Linked DNA regions of Homo sapiens: region 1 is linked to region 2. Evidence: promoter capture Hi-C in 16 types of primary human blood cells and fetal thymus (Javierre and others, 2016). All regions are on one chromosome and are shown on one strand. Each heading gives the region's core, a stretch centred on a gene start or on the middle of the fragment in contact. The rest is flanking DNA. Distances are from core to core; before and after follow the strand shown.

Region 1 (3,263 bases), core at 185-2,684, 490 kb after region 2:
AATATGTATACCTATTATATACCCACGAACATTAAAAATAATTTTTTAAAAAAAATTAATAGGATATTATGTCATTTCCCCCAGGTCTGGCTCAGTAATTCCCCATGAACAATGTAGAGGACGTATTGTCTAGTTAACTTGGTTAAATAAGGACTCAATGAATGGGGAAAAATGTATTTGGAAATTCTTTCCTAAAACTGAAATACCGTGGTCATCCATTCATTAAATAGTCACTGAATTCCTACCATGTCCTGGGAGTGTGCAGTGGTGAACAAGCCAGACATGTGGTCTTTGCTCACATGAAGCCTATGGGGAGACAGGAGATCCAAAAATAAATATACCATTACACGTTGTAATTAATTGAAAATATTTGTGTATACTAGGAGGCAGAGAAAGCCCAGTGTGCTGCCTTACTGTAATTTCCAGTCTCTCCAGAAATAAGAAAGGCACTGCTCCACTGCCTTTTAATTGCAGCTTTTCTATGTTTTTGCATTAGGAGTAATTATGTGCCCTTGACATTTTTGTGCTCAGAGTGCAGCAATCTGCCTAACAAGCATGGCTTGCTTCTCCCTGGACATAACTACTGAGTAATTGGCAGGCAGGCCGGACTGACCTGCGCCACACACAGAGCCAGAGCCCGCTGCCAATGCTTCAGGCCCAAGGGCTGTGCTCCTGGGTGCATAGCACAGAAAAGACTGCCAGGCTGTGTCAATCTTTTTAATCATGCTTACGCATATAGGTTAACCACAGTTATGTAAGCAGGTTCTGAGAAAAGGTGAGAAAGAGAATGGAGAGTTTTGCTACAACAGAGGCAGGATTCTGAATTTATTTCCAGCTGCCCATCTTGTCCCTCCTGGAGACCTAACCCCTCCAGCACCTACACACACAGCCTCTTTAGAAGCAACTATCCTGCCACTGGCTCAGAAAGGCTGAGTCCTAAGAATTCTAAAATCTTGCTCCTAAGAAATCTCAAGCTTCTTTTGTGGTAAGTGGCTTAATGAGACAGGGTAAGTGATAAACAAGAAGAATCATTGTATCATTTTATGTTTTTATCATGTTGTCATTGCACTGGCTAAGTTCATCTTTGATGGTAAAATACTAACGCAAATTGAAGCTGTGATAAAAGGGCTTTCAATATGAAATAGACAAGACATATAATGGAAAGAAATGCTTCCAGAATGGATTTCCATAAAAACGTGGCAAGACTTTCTCAGTGCCATTCTTTAAAATCTCTGCTATTTTTCAACAAATGCCAGATGTTAAAGCATTTGCATAGTATCCCTTGGAGGGTTGGGTGTAAAGACATGCATTAATATCAGGTTAATAGAAAATATCTACAATAACAAAATGTCCACACACAGATGCTCAATAAATGCCATAGCACTTGTTATGACTAATTATTATGAAGTACACGGACCCCTTTTCATATCAAATAATTTACTAGACCCTCACTTATAGATCTTGTACTCCTACTTGGTTGAGAATGTATCAAAATAACTAAAAATGTCACTGTGAATTTCATTAAATCTTGTATAAAGATCGAAATGTAGGCCTCCAGCTGTGAAATTTAGAATCTCATCTTTTACTAGCCTTGACCAGCTGTGAGTGAAATGCCAGATCAAAGTTTATTTTTCATAAATATTTAAGTAATGTCACAATTAGCAATGCTATTCTAGATAATTATTTAATTTCACTACATATTATAAACTGAAAATCTATGAAAAAAATTATATACTAATTTAATTGTCTTGGGAAATATAATAGAAATGGACCATAGTTTGACATTAGATGTTTTGGTATTAGGTTTGTGCAAAAATAATTGCTTTTAATGGCAAAACTGCAATTACTTTTGCACCACCCTAATGGTTCATATGACATCACCAACAATCATCCAGAAAGCTTCATATTAATCTTAAATGAATTGTTGCCATTAACAAAGCTTTCTTCTCTGAGATTCAGCTGGAGAAGTTCATTTTGGAAAACATTTAAAACTGTTATGCACATGAATCTCTGAAAAGATATGAAGCTCTGGCAAAAAAATAAATGAAGGCTAAAAACAGAGGGAAACAATTTCCCAGTGCAAAAGATTTTCTATTATTTTCATTATTATTCCTTAGATGTTTTGGCTGAAGATACAAAAAGAAAAACAAATAGATATGTTTTCCTCAAAAACCATCACTTTATTTTTGTGCCACGGTTTTTGTTTAAAATAAGATGACAGAGAAGAAAATTATAGAGATAAAATCAATTGTAGTAACCAAAAAAAAAAAAAAAAATCAGTTTTAGTAACCAAAGGAAATCAGTCTGTATTTCCAAAACCTTTGTGTGAGAGCCCATCAGTGTGGTTGGCAGATGTTTTACAAACACTTAGGGAATCTGTCATGAACTTTAAAGACCAAGAGAGCTTTTTCTGTTTGCCAGGAAATCTAGGAAAACAAAGGAAAATTAAACCCATTAGCCTAGTTTAACATCATGTGCTTCCCCCACTCGCCCCTCCCCTCATAGCCAGGGCTTACACAAACACACTGAATGGTACTTACGTTCCTTAGGTATTACCAGTTGGCCCCGTTTCAAGGCTTTAAAAAAGCCTCATCACTATGCACCCAACGTTAACACTCAAAGCCCCGCAGGGCTGTATCTTGGACGGCTGTTGCTACTGAGTGTGATTCTCAGCAGATGAAATGCTAGCAGCAGCAGCAGCAGCATCTATGAACTGCCTTATAATAAACTGCAACTTGGCTGCACTTAGTCATCACCAGGGCCACGCGCTGATGCGTGAACTCCACCCTCAGAGACTCTGATTTCATTGGTCTGGGAGTGGCCTGGACATCAGGATCTTTTCCTTTTTTTTAAAAAAAAATAATAATAATTATAATCCACAAGATTTTCCTAATGGTTACATCTCACACCATGAAATTGACTTTGGTAAAATGTGTGTATAGTTCTCTGTCACTTTATCACGTGTGTAGGTTTGTCTAATCAGCATTGCAATTATGATACAGAACTATTCCTTCATCACAAAGATATGCCTTTATGGTATCACTTACCTGCCTTCTCTCTACTATCCCTAACTCCTGACAAACACTAATCCCGATAATTTTGTCATTTCAAGACTGTTAAATAAATGGAATCGGCCAGGCGTGGTAGCTCATGTATGTAATTCTAGCACTTTGGGAGGCCGAGACGGGTGGATCACTTGAGGTCAGGAGTTTGAGACCAGCCTGGCTAGCATGTCGAAACCCCATCTCCACTAAAAATACCCC
Region 2 (3,433 bases), core at 423-2,922:
CTCAAAAAGGGTTAACACGGGGCCGGGCGCGGTGGCTCATGCCTGTAATCTCATCACTGTGGGAGGCCAAGGTGGGCAGATCACCTGAGGTTAGGAGTTGGAGACCAGCCTGGCCAACATGGTGAAACCCGGTCTCTGCTAAAAATACACACAAAAAAATTAGCTGGGCATGGTGGCAGGTGCCTGTAATCCCAGCTACTTGGGAGGCTGATGCGGGAGAATCGCTTGAACCCGGGAGGTGGAGGTTGCAGTGAACCGAGACAGGGCCATTGCACTCCAGCCTGGGCAACAAGAACGAAATTCCGTCTCAAAATAAAATAAAATAAACAATAAAAATAAAGGGTTAACATGGGGGCTGAGCACGGTCAGCGAGAGAATCACTTGAGGCCAGGAGTCTGAGACCAGCCTGGGCAACAGAGAACGCTGTCTCTACAAAGCATAATAATAAAAAAATGAGCCAGGTGTGGTGGCATGCACCCGTGGTCCCAGCTACTTGTGAGGCTGAGATGGGAGGTTGAGACTGCAGTGAGCCGTGTTCGCATCACTGCTCTCCAGCCTGGGCACAGAGACACTCTGTCTCTGAAACAAACAAAAAAAGAGGGGCTAACATGGTAAATTTCATGTTTCTTATCAAGTAAAAAGGCTTGCTGACCCACAATCTATATTAGGTTTCCCTGTTACTAGCAAGGAGTGAAGGATGTGCTATCCCAAAATATGTCCAAAAATTGGTATATTATTTTGAGCTAAAAACACCGGAGAAATTGTAGTTTCAGAAAGGGCTAGATGACCTGTCGTTTCCTACAGGGAATAAGCAGTAAAGATTCCTCTGGGAGTGGCACCCTCTCTGTACCCGGGTCAGAAAATAGCCCTTATCACCAGAGACTGGGAGTTGGGGCTGCAATGGACCTGAATAAATGAACTTCCCAAGTAACACTTACCTTCCACTAATTTTACACCCTCCCCAATATTTCTCCTAGTGACTCTCTTAGAAATGTATCGCCCCAGCCAGATGCCTTTTGTGCTTTCTTCTCAAATGCATCATTCTTTGTCTAAAAAGTATAAAAGCATCTTGCTGTGGCCACTTCTTCAGACCTCACTCTCTTTTGAAGGTCCCCATGAAAAACTAATAAAGTGTGTATGCTTTTCTTTTGTTTATCTGCCTCTTGTCAATTCGGTTTCTGGCTCCAGCGGAAGAGCCCGCAGAAGCGCTGAGGGGACTGGAGACGGTCTCTGGCGCCCCTACACCTGCTCAGTGAGCCTTCAGCCCCTTCTCCCTGACGAAGCTCCCAGAGGCTGGAACTCTGGCGCGGGAGGCACTTGGGAAATCCTCCCGAAAGCAAGGAGGAGCCTTTCCTAGACCGGGAGCGGTCCCACGCGGGGGTACAGGTTGGGGCAGGGGCGACCGAGCCGGGCACAGGAACTCGCAGCAGGGTAGGGTTGGCGGCTACGCCGCCCTCGGTCCGCGGGGAACCACGCGGGCTTCCGGGTCACGCCGCCGCGTTCCGACCGCCCTCGGGGAGAGGGGAGGAGCCTCCAGCGCCGGGCGGGGCGTGGTTAAGGCCGGTGGGCCCCACCGCAGCCAGACGCTGCCCGTTTAAGCGCAGAGGGCCGCGGGTCACGTGGTGGGCGGGGTGGGGGCGTGGCACCAGGAAGCGGCGTCCGCGCCGGGCCCAGAGCCGCAGCCGCAGCCGCCGCTACAGTCCGGGCCGGGCTCCACCGCGCATCCTGCTCCACTCTGGCGACCGCCCCCGGGGCCCCCGCCGCGGGCGCGGCGCCCGCCATGGGCGAGGAGGACTACTATCTGGAGCTGTGCGAGCGGCCGGTGCAGTTCGAGAAGGCGAACCCTGTCAACTGCGTCTTCTTCGATGAGGCCAACAAGCAGGTCCGGCGCGCCCGCGCTTCCTCCCCCGCGCGGCCCTGCCGGGGTCGTGGGCGCGCCAAGGCCGGTCCCGCGCGACCAGGCCCGAGCGTCCCCTCCTGTCCTGTCCCGTCCCGTCCCAGCGCGGGAGGCGGCGCGCGCTCCTTCCTTGTTGGGTGGGCTCAGCCGCGGCCAGGTGTCCTCGCAGGTGACCTCGGGGCTGGACCCCCGAGCCAGCTGCGCGGATGCAGTGGCCCCGTGGCCAGTGTCTCAATTGTTGGCGCGCCCGTCTTATCTAGGCTTCTTTTGTTGTGTTTGTCATTAGTTACACTCGTAGTCAAGGGTTTAGACGTCGAGATTTTCATTTTCCTTGAAATTTTGTAAAGGGGGAAAAGACTGTACTTCAGGCGTATCAGCGGCGCCGATGCGCGAACCGGTGTTAGAACTTGGAGCCTCGGGAACCCGACCCGGTGTCACGGTGGCATCCTTTTCGCTCTCTGCTCTTGGTTTTTAAAATTCACCTGAGCAGCCAAACATCTGTACCTTGATATGTGCCGTGTTACTTTAGTTGAACCCAGGGTGGTGTATAACAGAAATAATCGCTTGCGGGTTGGCTTCTGAGTTTAGATCCTTTCAGAGTTCAGGCTGTTAACCTTGCTGCTTTTCCCTCTCAGGTTTTTGCTGTTCGATCTGGTGGAGCTACTGGCGTGGTAGTTAAAGGCCCAGATGATAGGAATCCCATCTCATTTAGGTAATGGTATAGACACTTTCAGATCATTTTGTCATGTAAACAGAATGATGTTTTTCTAATTCAAATGGTTTTTTATAATTTTGTCATTTGGTCTGCCCTAAGAGGCCTGAAGTCTGTGTGCGCACATGGAATTCCTGTCTGTAGGGAGGGTCTTCGTGGCACTTACTAGCACCTCTTGTCAGAGTGGAATATCTGGAGCAGTTGATTTGGGAGCCAAATACTTCAAAAGTGGGGCAGCCACTTCCTAGCACTGGAAATTAACAAGTCAGCGTGATGATGTGCCCATTTCTGGTTTGTTCACAGAGGAGGGCGTTCATTTCTTTAGCCCAGGTCTTTCCAGAGTGGCAGGTGGAGGAGATTCATTGTTTCTCATGTAATAATACAAGAAAATCATGGCTTCCACTATACTTAAGGTGACTGCATAGTCCCAGTTCGCACTGTTGAACAGGTTTAATGATCAACAGCAGGGCCTTTCACTTTCAGAAGTGTCTCGATTTGGATGATAAGCTATCTGGCCACTGTAACACTGGTGCTTACAGAAGGTGAAAGTATAATGTAGGCCCTCAATTCAGTAGTGACTTAAAAAATTTTACTGTTGGTCTGTGTTAATGAGAAACTGTCCTTTTTTGAGAGGGAGCCTCCCTCTGTTCCCCAGGGTGGAGTGCAGTGGTGCGATCTTGGCTGACTGCAACCTCCGCCTCCCAGGTTCAAGTGATTCTCCTGCTTCAGCTTCCCAAGTAGCTGGGATTAGAGGCGCCCACCACCACGCCCGGCTAATTTTTTTTGTATTTTTAGTAGAGATGGGGTTTCACCGTGTTGGCCAG

The links. Contacts are between HindIII fragments. The CHiCAGO score rates a contact against its expected background, and 5 or more counts as called.
Region 1: a contact is called between a fragment that was not itself captured here and the fragment with the promoter of RMC1 in region 2, in 1 of 17 cell types (total CD4 T cells). The highest score is 5.9, in total CD4 T cells.

The regions. Positions count from the first base shown.
Region 1 is chr18:23,992,054-23,995,316 of GRCh38, forward strand. It overlaps TTC39C-AS1 (TTC39C antisense RNA 1), which reads right to left. Exons shown (of 6, transcript NR_110796.1): 6 at 2,160-2,426. It also overlaps a transcript of TTC39C not described here. Among named protein-coding and RNA genes, the nearest start is that of LINC02958, 11 kb to the left of the region's middle. RefSeq lists a silencer at 2,452-2,511. The HindIII fragment of the contact is 925 bases long and covers 973-1,897 here.
Region 2 is chr18:23,501,839-23,505,271 of GRCh38, forward strand. It overlaps RMC1 (regulator of MON1-CCZ1), which reads left to right and starts at 1,673. Exons shown (of 20, transcript NM_013326.5): 1 at 1,673-1,882; 2 at 2,533-2,609. The coding sequence starts at 1,781. RefSeq lists a silencer at 1,385-2,034 and an enhancer at 2,285-2,384. The HindIII fragment of the contact is 15,374 bases long and covers 1-3,433 here.